Regions from separate parts of the Homo sapiens genome. Here region 2 is linked to region 1. Evidence: promoter capture Hi-C in 16 types of primary human blood cells and fetal thymus (Javierre and others, 2016). All regions are on one chromosome and are shown on one strand. The core of a region is centred on a gene start or on the middle of the fragment in contact, and the rest is flanking DNA. Distances in the headings are between cores, read along the strand shown.

What was found. The method cuts DNA at HindIII sites, captures the fragments that hold promoters and counts their contacts. A CHiCAGO score of 5 or more calls a contact.
Region 2: a contact is called between a fragment that was not itself captured here and the fragment with the promoter of SEL1L in region 1, in 2 of 17 cell types (activated CD4 T cells and M0 macrophages). The highest score is 8.6, in activated CD4 T cells.

The regions. Positions count from the first base shown.
Region 1 is chr14:81,530,381-81,538,136 of GRCh38, forward strand. It overlaps SEL1L (SEL1L adaptor subunit of SYVN1 ubiquitin ligase), which reads right to left and starts at 3,473. Exons shown (of 21, transcript NM_005065.6): 1 at 3,295-3,473. The coding sequence starts at 3,364. RefSeq lists enhancers at 3,261-3,760, 7,547-7,756 and a silencer at 3,477-3,596. The HindIII fragment of the contact is 11,079 bases long and covers 1-7,756 here.
Region 2 is chr14:85,936,425-85,944,180 of GRCh38, forward strand. The region is part of intron 1 of LINC02328 (long intergenic non-protein coding RNA 2328); the gene reads left to right. Among named protein-coding and RNA genes, the nearest start is that of LINC02328, 5.6 kb to the left of the region's middle. The HindIII fragment of the contact is 2,488 bases long and covers 1,964-4,451 here.

The DNA.
Region 1 (7,756 bases), core at 2,223-4,722:
TTCTCAATCTGTCAAAAGGGGTAACACCTCTGTCCCGCTGACTCACAATATTTTAAGGAACGACCAAAACAGTGAAATTAAACATCCTCTGCTGTCTGAAAACTACTCTCTGAATTTATAATTATTACCTGAAATACCTGGCAGTGGACCTAACTAAAATGACTAACACTGCTTGGCACAAAGAAAAAAAAAGGTTAAGCCATTTGCCTCTTCTGCCAAAAATAAGAAAGCATGCATTTGTGAGAAAAATTATAACCTTTTCACTATTATCCTGAGAAAATGAAGAAATATCTTTTTAGTGTCCTCCTTTAAATTTATTAATAGAAAAGAGAAAATGTTTCTAATATTAGCCATGTGTCAATGACGAGGATATGTTCTGAAAAGTGTATCACTGGGCGATTTCCTTTTTGTATACTTAAACCTAAATGGGATAGCCTTCTACATACCTGGGCTACATAGTGTAGCCTGTTGTTCCTAAGCTACAAATCTGTACAGCATGTGACTATACAGACTACTGTAGGCAACTGTAACATAACAGTAAGTATTTGTGTACATAAACATAGCTAAACATAGAAAAGCTACAGTGAAAATATGGTGTAAAAGATTACAAAACATATACCTGTCTAGGGCACTTACCATAAATGGAACTTGCAGGATTAAGAGTTGCTGTGGGTGAGTGAGTGAGTGAATGTGAAGCCTAGGATGTTACTATACACTATTGTAAACACTGTACACTTAAACTACACTAAATTTATTTTTTAAAAAGTGTGCTACCATGTTCCAATGGCTACAATGTCACTAGGTGACAGGAATTTTTCAGCTCCATTATATTCTTACAGGGCCACCATCTTACATGGGGTTCATTGTTGACCAAAATGTCATTATGTAGCATGTGACTATATCATATTTTTACATGCTTCTAAAACATGATACTAGCTAACAGCTATCAACAGCAATAGAATCAAGATTCTCTTTGTTGGCTGACCATACTCCACCTGGAGAGATGCGACCTGCCCTGGGTAACCACTAATGTTCAAACACAAAATTATAACCAAAAACTTGATTTTAATACTGGAGTAAAACTTTAAACTTTGAGGCCGAAACCCTGTGAATGAAAATCACAATTGAAAATCCATAGCTTAATTTACACAACTTTATTTAACACAGGGTTGTTTTTTTTTCTTTTTTTTTGAGACAGGGTCTCGCTCTATTGTCCAGGCTGGAGTGCAGTGGCATAATCACAGCTCAGTGCAGCCTCAACCTCCTGGGGCTCACTCCATCCTGCCACCTCAGCCTCCCGAGTAGCTGGAACTACACGTGTGCACCATCACACCTGGAGTTACGTAGAGATGGGGTTTCGCCATGTTGCCCAGGTTGGTCTTGAACTCCTGGGCTCAAGTGATCCTTCCACTTCAGCCTCCCAAAGTGCTGGGATTACAGGTATGAGCTGGGCCCGCACAGGTGTTTTATGATATATGAACTTCATGTGAGCACAGCACTGCCTTTATTACCTTTTAGCATGCACATCTACATTGTTTTAGTTCTGGCTAAGGCTTCTGCCTTTACCATTGAAATGTTGTGGCACAGCTTTAACTATGATGGAAATCAGAGCAGACATTTCTTGAATACAGTCCTCTACCTACATCAATACAACCCAAGGATTTAATATATCAGTGTTAAGTCTTTTATTACAACATCCTGAAAGCCCCAACTGTTGATCTTCAAATATCTTTTCCACTGGCATGGAGCTCTAAGTATATAAAATGCAGTCAAAGACAGACAGCACAATTCCTATGCTTTAATTTTCTTTAAACTCTGCCAATTAAATTCAGAGGGATACACACCGTGCTCTTTCATTACTGTAGTTCTCTTTAGTGTGAAGAATCCCTCATGGAGATTGTTAATCTATGTATACCTGAGCTGTTCCAGACCTAAAACCCAATGTTTAACAAACCCATAAGAGGAATTCTGATGCAGGAGGTCCATGGTCCAGCAGGTACTCTACTCATTAAGCTCAACAGCTTCATTTCATGCTTTTTGATCAAATATTAAATAACTGCTAAAAGTGCTTCGAGAGTTAAGTATAGTCTAAAGATCTGGTCATTAACTCAAACCATCACTACTACTGGAGGGAGGGGAGTGGACCTGAAAGAATGATGTTGGCAGTAAAGTAATTAGCATAGGGTTGGTGCTTTTGAAATGGTATCTCAAACCACATCATGGATAGAATTTAGGTTTAAGCCTCTTATTTTAGAAGCAGAATGACGTTATGGCATTGATTTACAACTAGGACAGGTAATTTGGGGATTCAGATAACCATCTGGGAAATTTTCTGTTAAAAAAAAGCTGACATTTATTAAAAAAAGAAAAAGCTGACATTTATACTCCGTGTTGTCCCCCCAAAACGTCAAGCCACAGAACACCTGTCCTGTTAACTGAAACTGATTAAAATTCCAAAGTTTTACTGTACTAATTTTTATTTATCAACACTTAGAAACACGAAGTTTTCATGAACACTCTCAAAATGGAAATTTTCAAATGTAGGCAGATTAAAACATTAAAAAAGGGGGAAAAAAGCAGAACCAGAATAAACATTAGCTAACTGGAAAATCAATTCAAAAGCACACAAATTTCTGTATCTATATAAAACGCATCTTATAAGAACCAAGATTTTCCCAAACATCATAAAATGACTGTCAACAAACATGGGGCAACTCAGAAACACTGTGACAGGTCACCGCTTTCTCAGGAAGGTTTCAAAAAAGTAAAAAGTGGCTACGATGAGATCAAAAGTCTTCGTTTTTAAACAGACAGACCAGGGACCATCTCAGGTGTTAAGCAAACTACTGTCAACATCCTGGTCTGGATGGATCCTCCTCTGCCCCAAAGTGACAGCTCCAGGTTTGTCAATTATTTAACTTACAATTCCCAAGCCCAGAGTTCTAGACCAGACCCTTCCTCTACCCCAGGGTCGAGGAAGCTCCACTCGGGCTCCTGTATCAGGATTCATTCCTTTGGAGTCAATTCCGCGTTCGTGAGAAGAGTCGCGCAAAGTTTGTTACGTGGGAGAGAGGTGTGGGCAGGGTGACCGCCCCTTCTTTTTCCACCCCACTCCACCTTCCTAAATAGCCCCTTTGGCGCAGGCCAAGCAAAGCCAAAGAGCGAGTGACAGCCCAGTGCGAGATGTGCCCAGGGAGAACGGGGTCCCGAGCCTGGAGTCCCCACGGCCCCGCCGGCTGTAGAGGCTGGGGGGCGGAGGCTCTGGGCCTTCAGCCCGAGGGGGCGGATACTGACCCGAGGACGCCGAGGCCAAGCTCAGCAGCACCGCACACAGCAGCAGCGTCAGCCCTATCCGGACCCGCATCCTCCTCTCGGGGCCGGTGCCAACCCCTAGAGCTGTCGCCTTCGCCTCTGCCACCACGGACTCAGCCACCACCGCCGCCTCGCCGCTGCTCTTCCTGCTCTAGTCTCCTTCCTCCGCCCCTTCCCAGGCTTCCCTGACCCAGCGCGCAGCCAATCCCCGCCCGCCGTCGCGGGCTTCTGGTCCAATCACCATGGTCTCCCCGCCCACCCCCATTGCTCCGCCCCGGGGGTCATTCATTGGCCAATCATTGTACGAAGCTCCCACACCAGCTTTCTCGGTTGGACCACGACTCACGGACATGGCCCCAGCTAATTGGTAGCCCCTGGGTTCAACCGGAATCAGCGCGTGAGTCCAAGACTGGGAGAAAGAGGCTCATCCGAGACTACAATTCCCAGAATGCGCTTCATGTGATTAACTCGGGGGGTGCTCTTGGGAAACGTAGTCCATCGTAGGGCAAGATTTACAAGTGCGGGTGACTGTTGAAGTTAGAATTTAACTAACACCTGGGCTAAATATTAACTCAAGGCTATGGATTCACAAGCCTTTTTAAATTGACCCAAAATAAATATTAAGGAATAATTTTAAGAACTTGTAATGTGTTTAGCATCTTTTCCTGTTTTATTTAAAAAATTTAAATTGGGCATAGTGATAAGAGCACTGAGAAAAATGCCACAGCTAGTTGAATTTGAGGTGTTTTTTAAAACTTAGATAAAACAGTACCGTGAAGTACGGAAACCAGGGTGCAACTCAGTACCTGTCCTCCTTTCTCCGACAAAACAAAAGGAAATAAATCCGCTCGGCACAGATTATCTCAATACAGTATTTATTTTCACTAGGTTCACCAGACAATAATCATAAAGAAAATGTGCCAACAGCTTTGAAAAATTATTTTAAACACTTGTCCTCATCCTTCTCCTCTTGTGAGTTGCATTGTTCTCTTCTTTCCTAACTAAAGTCAGGAGACCAGGTTCACGTGTGTGGAGGTAGAGGTGATAGTGATTGCATCGCAGGCACGGAAATACTCTATGTAATAAGCACGAAATCCAGGCATGTTCCAACTGAGTAGCAGAGCAGTGACTTGGTGTGCCTGCCCTTTCTTTTCTCAAACCGTGTCATTCTGCTTTCCCTGTCATCCACCCACAGTCAGCTCTAAGGCCTAGAACCTAGTCCAGCCAAGTGAAGGACTTTGGAAAAGTCTCTGCTGGCCATGTGTCTTAACACTTCTGGGCATTTGTCTTCCTTCCTTTTTTTTTTTGTTTTTTGTTTTTTGTTTTTTGAGATACAGCCTTTTATTTTCAGGAAGATGGTAAAAAACCAACCACTGTTTCTCATTCACATCGGAGGAGATGAAGGAAAGAATTATCTCCTCCAAAAACTTGTCTTTTCAGCTACATCACCATTTCTGTCACTAACAATGTTCCCTCTGAGTTCCTCTGATTATAAATCATAGAGTAAAATCTGGTATATTTTCCTTTCTTTTTCATCTTATTGATAATCAAGTTCTATCAGTTTAAACTATGTAACTTTTAAATTGTTTTATTTTATTATGTACCTCTGTTCTCTTCCTCACTGAAAACTCCCCTAATGGCTTTCATTTTCTCTCACCTGGATGATGCACCTGAGTTCCAGCCATACTCACTGACATCATTCTCCCTTTAACCTGAATCACATATCATGGCCATATTAATTTTCCTTAAACACTGCTTTCATATGCCTATTGAAAATTTTCAATGGCTACACTTTTCACAGAATAAAAAAAATTAGAACTTATTCTACTCACAAAATAGGAACTGTGCTGACAGTTCTACTCTGTTGGGGAAGTACCAGGGAAGAAACTTCTGCCTTCTACAGAAGAGCCAGTGATTATCTGTTTGATTAAAACTGGGGAAAGTTTGCTGCTTAGTTAAGCCCCAACTTCTTTTTTCAGTTTTGTCTTTACTGAGTACGTCTTATATTTAAGGGTTGTTCTGGGTGCTGCTGCATGGACCAAATAGCCACTTCCGTTTTACTTTCCAGATTTCACATTAACACAATCATGTCTTCCTAAGGGTTCCTCTACCCTTTCTCCAACTGCCCTTGCTTCTTTCACTTAGCCATAACTCTGGCATCCTTCCCAATTTCATTCACATTTCGTCTTGGATCACACTTCTCCAACCAGATCTGTCCTCATTAATCTTCATTTCTCTAAGAATCTATTGAACACTCACAATCTTGCCTTATAAACAGATTGTAAACATGCTGAGGCTGGAGATGATCATGTGATTCTGTGTATAGGTATATAGTGCTGGACTTGCCACCACTAGCACTAGTTAATTATTTATTGGTTGATAGATATGTCTTGCCTGTCTGTTGTGAGATTCAAAATGGAGACACAGGATAAAAGCACTTTCTACATTGTAGGATGTTTTACATATAGTATTGTTTCTTATTGATTGCTTGGTTGAGGCGAAGGAGGGAAATTAGTTTTATACCCTTAATGCGAAAAGGGCTTAGAGCTGCTAGAGCTTTTGCCTTTAGCCAGCAATGAGTAGCTGACGTGCTCTGAGAATTCTCATAGGACCTGACTTCCTGGGGAAGTTCCAAGTCTCCAAAGTGGTTCAGAATATGCTGTGGGAAAGTCAGATTTATTTTATCAGCCTGCTATATTACATGAGATTAATTAGAAAAAAGGTTGTGAATTCTCCATGGCCTATCCAGTCTGTGCATACACTCCTCAAGGTTACCTGCCAGCATTCCCAGTTAAGGTTATGTACTTGTACAAAATGTTAATATTATTTATTAATTCTTAGACTGCTTCAATATTTGCTCAGCTGTCTTTATTCCATCTGTCCATATCAGCATTCTGGGTCATTGTCAGAGATTTCCAAGTTGCAGAAAACCTGTTTGCTCTGCATTGCAGCACAGCATAGCACTCAACAGAGGTAGGTAATAAACACCTTTTAATGCAGATGACACTGATGTAACCTCATGCCATTGAAATGAATCAAGCAATTAACAAATGCTGAGAACCTGAACGTGTTGAGGACATAAATCCAACTTGCTTTTCACTTAAGGATGGTGAGACAACCTCCAGAGACTTTTCCTGAGAATGGGGCAATTGTCACCAACTCTAGTGGGATATATCCTTTCCTGTGCTTTTCTTTGCGTTCCATTTGAATTGGTAATAGGCAAGACTGTCAGCATTTGTATTAAGGTATTTGCCAGGGCAGGATTAGGGAGAAGCAAGAAGCAGAATATTTTTCCCTTCAGGGCTTAGAAAAGAATGTACTTTCTTTCCTATAGATGAGGTAAATTAAAGTTTTCATGCATAAATGAAAATATAAACTCTTGCATTATATAGTGAGATAGAACCTGGCATCTTCTTATTTATATTCTGAGCTCTTGGAGTAAATGAACAATGGACTTATACCTCATCTTATCCCTCCTAACTTCAGGACAGCATATGGCAGGTGATCAAAGTGATCAAATTAATAAGTTTTGGGTGTTCATGCCAGTTTCCATGATTATAATTAAGAGCATTAAGTTTGGATTGCAGATCATAGATTGTGGAGGAGTATGTTTGATCTACCTAATGTTTGAAGCTGATAGAAGATGAAAGGGGGGAGGGAGCCTCAGGCTGTTTACCAAGTTTCATCGTGAGGTGACATTTGCTCTGGACATGTGTGTTCTCTGAGCAGTGTTGACTCATACCAGATAAAGGAAAGGCCAGGATATGTTTTTACCCTAAATAACTGGACAGGCATCCTTGGGTCCAATATTTTCATAAATTTGTTAACTGCTAGTTCCAGGGAGAGACTGGATTATAACTAAATTTAAATAAGAACTCGATGAAGTGAACTTTATAAGGTAGAGATAAACAGCTTAGAGCTCCCATTAAATTCAGTTAACCCTTGAGTAGATAGCAATGTATTTAATTAGTGAATGTTGCATTAGGAACATTATTTTCACAGGTCCTTCCTTCCTTCCACAAATATACAGGAACATTCCTGTAGTTGAGCACATTGGCTTTATTACTCATTGCAGTGTGGAAAAAAAATACACCATAAGGTATCTCCGTAGGAGGGTATTAGAAAGAACCTATCTTAGAATTTGGGCTTTGATTGGGTGATTTGTCAGAGACTAAGGAAGTTGGGTTTGCTCTAGATTGGATGCTGTTAGAAGTGCCCCTGCCTTCTATCGGGGGAACCAGCCCCCAATATTTCAACATAGGTTCTTTTTTATTTTCCCTAAGTGTTGGCTGGTCTGAAAAAGAGAAAGAGTACAAAGAGAGGAATTTTACAGCTGGGCCTCTTGGGGGTGACATCACATATTGGTAGGACCATGATGATGACCCCGAGCTGCAAAACCAGCAAGTTTTTATTAGGGATTTTAAAAGGGGAGGGGGTGTATGAA
Region 2 (7,756 bases), core at 1,958-4,457, 4.4 Mb after region 1:
ATATGTTTAGCTTTGTTAGAAACTGCTAAGTTATCCATCAGAGTGGTTGTACCATTCTGCATTTTCTCCGGTGATGAATGAGAGTTCTTGTTGCTCCTCATCCTAACCAGTATTTAGTATTAGCATATTTTGGTTTTTAGCCCTCTTAATACATGTACAATGTTATCTCATTATTATTTTAATTTTTATATACCTAATGACAACCAATGTTGAGCATCTTTACATGTACTTATTTGCCATATATATGGTGGTATCTGTTTAGAACTTTTGCTTACTTTTTAATTGAGTTGTATTTTATTCTTGAGTTTTAAGCATCACTCTGTATATTTTGGATGTATTATTTTTATTTTTTCTATCTTTTTTTTTTTTTTACCAGATATGTGTTTCACAAATATTTTTTTCTCATTCTATGGCTTGTCCTTTAACTCTCTTAATATTTCTCAAAGAGCAGATGTTTATAATTCTAATAAAGTCTTACTTTTTTTTCATGTATTGTGCTTTTGGTGCTGTATTTAAAAACTCATCGACAAATCTAAGATTCCATAGATTTTCTCTTTTCTTTTTCTTTTAGATGTTTTATAGTTTTTCATTTTAAAGTTAGGTACTTGATCAATTTCAACTTAATTTTTGTGAAAGCTGTAGAATATGTGCTAGGTTCTTTTTGTTTTAATTTGAGTATCCAATTGTTTCAGCACTATTTGTTTAAAATGTCAACATTTGCTTCATCGACTTGACTTTGAATCTTTGGGAAAAATGGAAACTACCATTGCAAAATTATAACTGAGACAGTGAAAGATATTTGACCTAACCAACTCCATTTTCTTCTAACCTCCAAGCTGTCCTTGTTCATTCCTCGGTGTAGGCTGAACTAACTTTGGGAGGAACTTAGTTTATAGTTTAAAACAAAAACAATAACAGCCCTTTCCCCAGACAAACCTCCTTCTTGCCTGGGGACTAGACTGCCTTTGTAGGACTAACAAATTAGCCACAAGATTAGAAATTATGGGCTGGGTGCGGTGGCTCATGCCTGTAATCCCAGCACTTTGGGAGGCCAGGCGGGTGGATCATGAGGTCAGGAGATCGAGACCACCCTGGCTAACATGGTGAAACCCCATCTCTACTAAAAATACAAAAAAAAAAAAAAATTAGCCGGGTGTGGCGGCAGGCACCTGTAGTCCCAGCTACTCGGGAGGCTGAGACAGGAGAATGGTGTGAACCCAGGAGGTGGAGCTTGTGGTGAGCCAAGATCGTGCCACTGCACTCCAGCCTGGGCGACAGAGTGAGACTTGGTCTCAGAAAAAAAAAAAAAAAAAAAAACAAAAAAACCCTAATCTGCTCTTAAGATCAGTGATTGAGATAAATTTGCAGACCCTCCCCTTGATGGATCAGCTGGCACCACCCAGATCAATTAACTGGCTCATCTGATCTTGTGGCTCCAGCCAGGAACTGACTTGGCCCAAGAGGACAGCTTCAATTCCCTATGATTTTATCCCCTTCCTGACCAATCAGCACTCTTGGCTCACTGGCTTCCCCCCGCCTACCAAGTTGTCCTTAAAACATCTGATCCCTGAATGCTCAGGGAGACTGATTTGAGTAGTAATAAAGCTCTGGTCTCCTGCACAGCTGGCTCTGCGTGAATTACTTTTTCTCTATTGTAATTCCCCTGTCTTGGTAAATTGGCCCTGTCTAGGCAGTGGGCAAGATGAACCCAATGGGAAGTTATAAATTCATTTGAATATATGTTTGGGCCTATTTATAGGCTCTCTGTTTTGTTCCACTGATCTATGTGGTTTTTTTTTGGTGAGGTGAGGTCAATGCTATGTGGTCTTAATCATTGTAGCTTTACAGTAAGTCTTAAAATAAGATAGTGTGAATCCTCAACATTATTCCTCTGTTCCTGCAGGATTGTGTTGGTTATTCTGGATCTTCTGCCTTTTAATTTTTCCTATAGAGGCAAAAGGAAAGCTTCTCTTCTGCTCTCTGAGGATTTGCTGCTGAAAAAAACTGACAATAGATAGATTAACAAAAGAAAGTCATATAACTCTATTAATGTGCAGAAGCATGGGAGCCATGGAAAATATGAGTCTCAAAGAAGGGCCAGATGGCTGCAGCTTAAATAACACTCTTCATAGGGGAGAGGGAGATGGGAGTGCAGGCAATTTAGAGTATAGGCAATGATGTTTAGAGAAATGAATTAGCCTAAAAAAAGACAAAGTTCTTTTGAGATCTGGGCGAGGTGGTGGCAAGTTATGAGAAGGTGATGAGATGTTCACCATGAACAAAATTTGTCTTATTATGCAGATAGTGTCCCTGGTAATCTCTTGGAGCTTCCCTCAGAAGTCTAGATGAAAAATCTCTCTGAGCGTGGTGATGACTTCAGATCTAGTCTCTTCTCCAGTGGTTAATCTTTCCCTGTTTTCTGTTGAAATTTCTAGGAAGTGTGTTTTAAGACAATTTCATGACTTCTGGAGGAACTTTTTTAATCAGATAAGGGAACTTGAGAGAAGGGTTTTCCTGAGGCTTCAATAAAGGAAGGGGTAAGGGGGGGCAGAGATTAAAGAGAGGCCATGGTCCTGAGGCTTATTTCTGAGGCCTTTCAACATTTTTTTTTTCAAAGCACTCAGCATGCCAAACTGCCATATTTTGGGTTGTCATTTTCTGAACCCCAATAAAACTTTAGAATCAGCTTATCAATATCTCCAAAATAGTGTACTAAGATTTTCTTTGAGATTCAATTGAATCACTTGAGAGAGTTTGGAAGAATTGTCATCTTAAGAATATTGAATCTTGGCTAGGCGTGGTAGCTCACACCTGTAATCTCAACACTTCGGGAGGCTGAGGCGGGCAGATCACGGGGTCAGGAGTTCGAGTCCAGCCTGACCAACATGGTGAAACCCTGTCTCTACTAAAAAAATACAAATTATCTGGGCATGGTGGTGGCTGCGTGTAATCCCAGCTACTCAGGAGGCTGAGGCAGGAGAATCGCTTGAACCTGGGAAGTGGAGGTTGCAGTGAACCGAGGTCACGCCATTGCATACCAGCCTAGGTGACAGAGTGAACCTCTGTCTCAAGAGAAAAAAAAAAAAAGGGAATATTGAATCTTTAAACTTGTAAATACGAGGCATCTCTCCATATATTTACACAACTCTTTGATTTTTTCATCATTGTTTTGTGTTTTTTGGTCTATAGATCCTAAATATATATGTATGGTTATATTTGTATGTGAATACTTCATTGTTTCAGTTTGGGGGAGGCTATAATAAATGCCTCTTTTTAAAAAAAATTATAAATCCCAATTGTTCTTTGCTTGTATGTAAACATGGACTTGACGTTTGTGTAATAACCTTGCATCTTGTGAACTTCTATAATTGCCTATTAATTCTCACTGCAGCCTCCGCCTTTGGGTTCAAACAAATCTCTTGCCTCAGCTTCCTGAGTAGCTGAGAGTACAGGCGCATGCCACCAAGCCTGGATAACTTTTGTATTTTTAACAGAGATGGGATTTCACCAGGTTGGCCAGTTTGGTCTCGAACTCCTGACCTCAGGTGATCCACCTGCCTCGGCCTTCCAAATTGCTGGGATTACAAGCGTGAGCCACTGAGCCCAGCCACTTGCCTATTTATTCTAAGTTGCTGCTGTTCATAGTTGCTTTGATTTTCCACATAGAAAATCATGTCATCTGTGTATTAAGACAGTTTTATTTCTTTTTTTCCAATTTGTATACCTTTTATTTATTTTTCTTACTCTTTTGTATCAATTAGTATTTCCAATACAAAATTGAAAAGTAATGACAAAACATCCTTGTCTGTTCCTGATCTTAAGGAAAAATTTTCCAGACACCCACCACAAAGTATGATGCTAGCGGTAGGAGGTTTTGTAATTTTAAAACACCAAATTAAGGAAGGCCCTCTCTATTCCTACTTTGATGTGTGTTTTCATGCTGAATGGGCATGGATTCTGTCACATAATTTTTTCGTTTCAATTGATACAGGCACATAATTTTTCTGGGTCTGTTACATTAGTTGATTTTTTTGAATGTGAGTTAACCTTGCATACTTGAAATAAACTTTCTGGGTTGTAGTGTATTACTGTTTTTATACATTCTCTTCAATTTGTTATTATTTAGTTGAGAAATTTTGCTTCTGTTCTTAAAGGATATTGGTCAGTAGTTTTCTTTTCTCTTAATGTCTTTATCTGCTTTTGGTAGGAGGGAAATGCTGATATTATGTAATAAGTTAGGAAGTGGCCCTTCTGTTTCTGTTGTGGAGAAACGGCATTATTTGTTTCCTAAGTGTTTGGTAGAATTCATTAACTGAAACCATCTGTTTCTCAGGCTTTCTTTTTTTAAAGTTATGAAATATTGATTGAATTTATTTAATAAATACAGGACAATTCTCATTTTCCTTTGTATAAATTTTGATAGTTTGTCTTTCAGGAGGTTTAGCTATTTAAGCTTTGTTATCAAATATGTTAGCATAACATTGTTCATTATAATCTTTTTTTTATTCTTTTCATGTCCATGGGTTCAGTAGTAATGACTCTTTTATTTCTGATATTGATAATTTCTGTCTTCTCTTTTTTATCTTGGTTAGCCTGGCTATAATTTTGTCAACTTTACTGAACTTTGCAAAGAAAAATATTTTGGTTTGTTTGATTTTTATCTATTATTTCTCTCCTTTTGATTTCTGTTACTTCTGCTCTAATCTTTATTAATTCTTTTATTCTGCTTGTTTTAGGTTAAGTTGCCCTTATTTCTATGGTTTCTTATAGTAGAAAGGTTATTGATTGTAGATATTTCCTCTATTCCAAGATATGCATTTAATTCTATGAATTTTGAAGCACTATTTTCACTGCATTCTCAAGTTTAATAATTGCATTTTAATTTTCCTTTATTTTAAACTATGTAAATGTTCTCTTGAGACTTTTTATTTGACCCATATGGTATTTAGAAGTATATTATATAATTTTCAGATACTTGGAAATTTCTCAGCTAAATTTCTGTTATTGACTTGTAGTTTTGACTGCACCTGTTATCTAAGATTAAACTTCATATTATTCTTATTTTTTAATAAGTATTTTTGATTCTTCTTTCCATTCCTTATGATGTTGCTAGCATTCATTTCTTTTATTCATATGCTTGAATCACCAAATAAATTGTTATTATTACTTTAAACAAATAGTTACTTTTTTGGTCATTTAAGAAAAAGTAAAACAAAATATTTTATTTTATCTTTATTTATTTATTCCTATCTTTTCTAGATACACATTTCTGACATAGCATTTCCTTCTGTTTGAAGAACATCTTTTAACATTTCATGCAGGAAGTTCTGCTGCCAATAAAATTCTTTATTTCTTCTTCACTCTTCAAGGATAATTTTGCTGATTATAGAATTTTAGTTTGGTAGTTTCTTTAAATATTTTAAGTATTTCACTTTACCCTCTTCTTGCTTGTGTGATTTTCGATAAGCCTGCTTTTATCCTTAAAATTGTTCCTCTATAGGTAAGTTTTTTGTTTTTGTTTTAGATCTGGCTACTTTCAAGTTGTTCTTCCTATCTTTAGTTTTCTGCAGTTTGAATTTTATATGCTTTGGAGGAGTGTGTATGTGTGTGTGTGTGTGTGTGTGTGTGTGTGTGTGTGTGTGCATTTATTTATTTATTTTTCCTGCTTTTTGTTTTTTGAATGTCCTTGATTTGTGGCTTAGTGTTTGCCGTTAATGTTTTAGATTTCTTGGTCATTATTACTTCAAATCTTATTCCTTCATTCTCTTTCTTTTCCTTCAAATAATATGCATATGATGCCTTTTAAAATTATACTGCAATTTATTTTTAGCTTGTTTTTGGTTTTTCTTTTATTACAATTTTTGAATGTTCTGTCTTTTTTTGTACTACTTTTCCCTTCGCATATATTTTGAGAATTCTCTCTAACAGCCTATTTTTAACCTCGCTGATTCTTTTCTGAGTTATTTGGAGTCTACTAATGAGCAATAAAAGGCACCTCTTCTTTTTCCTGTTAAGTATTTTCCTATTTCTAGTATTTCCTTTTGATTATATGCAATTTTGATAGTCTCAGCTTTGGCTCACAGAAACATCAATTGTCTTTCTATGGGAGCAGAAACTTGAATGAGAGTCCCATTAAGTCAACAAGTAGATAATTTCAAATTTCTAGATTTTTGAAATTATGACATTTGACATTCAACCAGTTAAATTATTTTTCTGAATCTATTATTTGGTCCGTCTAAATATGTTCTCATACCTGACTTAGTAGAAAGTAGAATTTAATTTTGATTGCATATTTAGTGCTAAGACACGTGTAGAACGACAACATATGCTAAAGCCTAAATTTTATAGTCAGGAGTGGCCATTTGTATCAGGATCAAGCATATAATGAGAATTACTCACATTGAAGTGTAGGAAATCAGAGCACCCGTATCTTTGATTCATTCTCAAGACCAAGTCAACTGGATCTAACATGAATATCAGGTGATGAAATAAAAGTGTGGCAAAATGTGAGCTAAAGACATTCTTATGGGCCGACATTGCTGTTATTCTGCTGTTAAAGCTAAGAACTCCTGCCTTGATGGATCATCTTTCTACAGATTAAAGTATAGTGTAAAGTCCATTTTTGTGTAGACTAAAGTACATTGTAAACAATAGTATCTGGTGATTGGTAAAGAATAGGCAAAGCCTACTTCAAGCCTTTCTTGAAGAGTGCCAATCATAAAAACAATATAGATACATAAACCATGTGAGCAATTCTAAATACTAATATCCCATGTTACAGTATGTAACATTTTAAACAAGTGCTGTACTTCAATATGATTCATTATACTCACCAAATGCTCTAGATAAATATATGTAAACAGTTTTGCCCATCATTCCTCCAAAATTCTCCTTTCAGCTCAGAGTGCACTGTTTAACAATCAAAGTTCCTCAAAGCATTGCCTTATGAAAAGGTTAGCATCAGCATGACACATTGGGGAAACTGCAAAAGCAACTTTCAATTGCAGCATTTCATTTCAACACACCACAAATTATCGCTCTTTGCTAGGATTTTGAACTGAAGAAAAAAGAAATGTCCAAATACCAAACCTCTAAAATATTTTTGTTTCCTTTGAAATAAGAGGAAGAAAACACTTCCTTGCAACCACTTGAAACAATAATAAGGCAGGTGTAACCATTACAGGGTAAAATTCTTTGTAAAAACTGTCACTAGACACTCAGACTAGGTGTCCTCATGCAGTAACTTGAGAGATCATTGATGCCATTTTTTTAAAGCAACAGCGAAACTTTGGGTCTGACAAACCCCATTCTTTTCTCAAAAATTCAACTGCGTAATAAGATGGCACTGCCTCTATACATCCATTTAATTTCTGCCAAAGGTATCACAAGCAATTTGCTCTCTAATGAAAATCATGAAAGGACTGTGTCTCATTTTGCAGGCAATTTTTAGTAAAAACCACAAGGGACTGGCATACTGGCATCTTATTTTCAGCTGGTAGGATTAGTTTGTTGAAAAAAAATGTAGAATGCTGAGATTGGAGAGTGGACAGAACTAACAGAGCCCTGGAGAGGAAGCCATTGTGCTCAATTATTGTTTGTGGAATGAATGAGTGAATGAATGACCAAACTATGAAAATCCCCAAAAGGATGTTTGCTGCAATGTTTAAATTAAATCCTCAAGTTGATTTTTTTTAAAAAAATATAACCATGAGGGAGATACCAATGAAGTCACAGCTTGTAAGGTATAATTCTCATT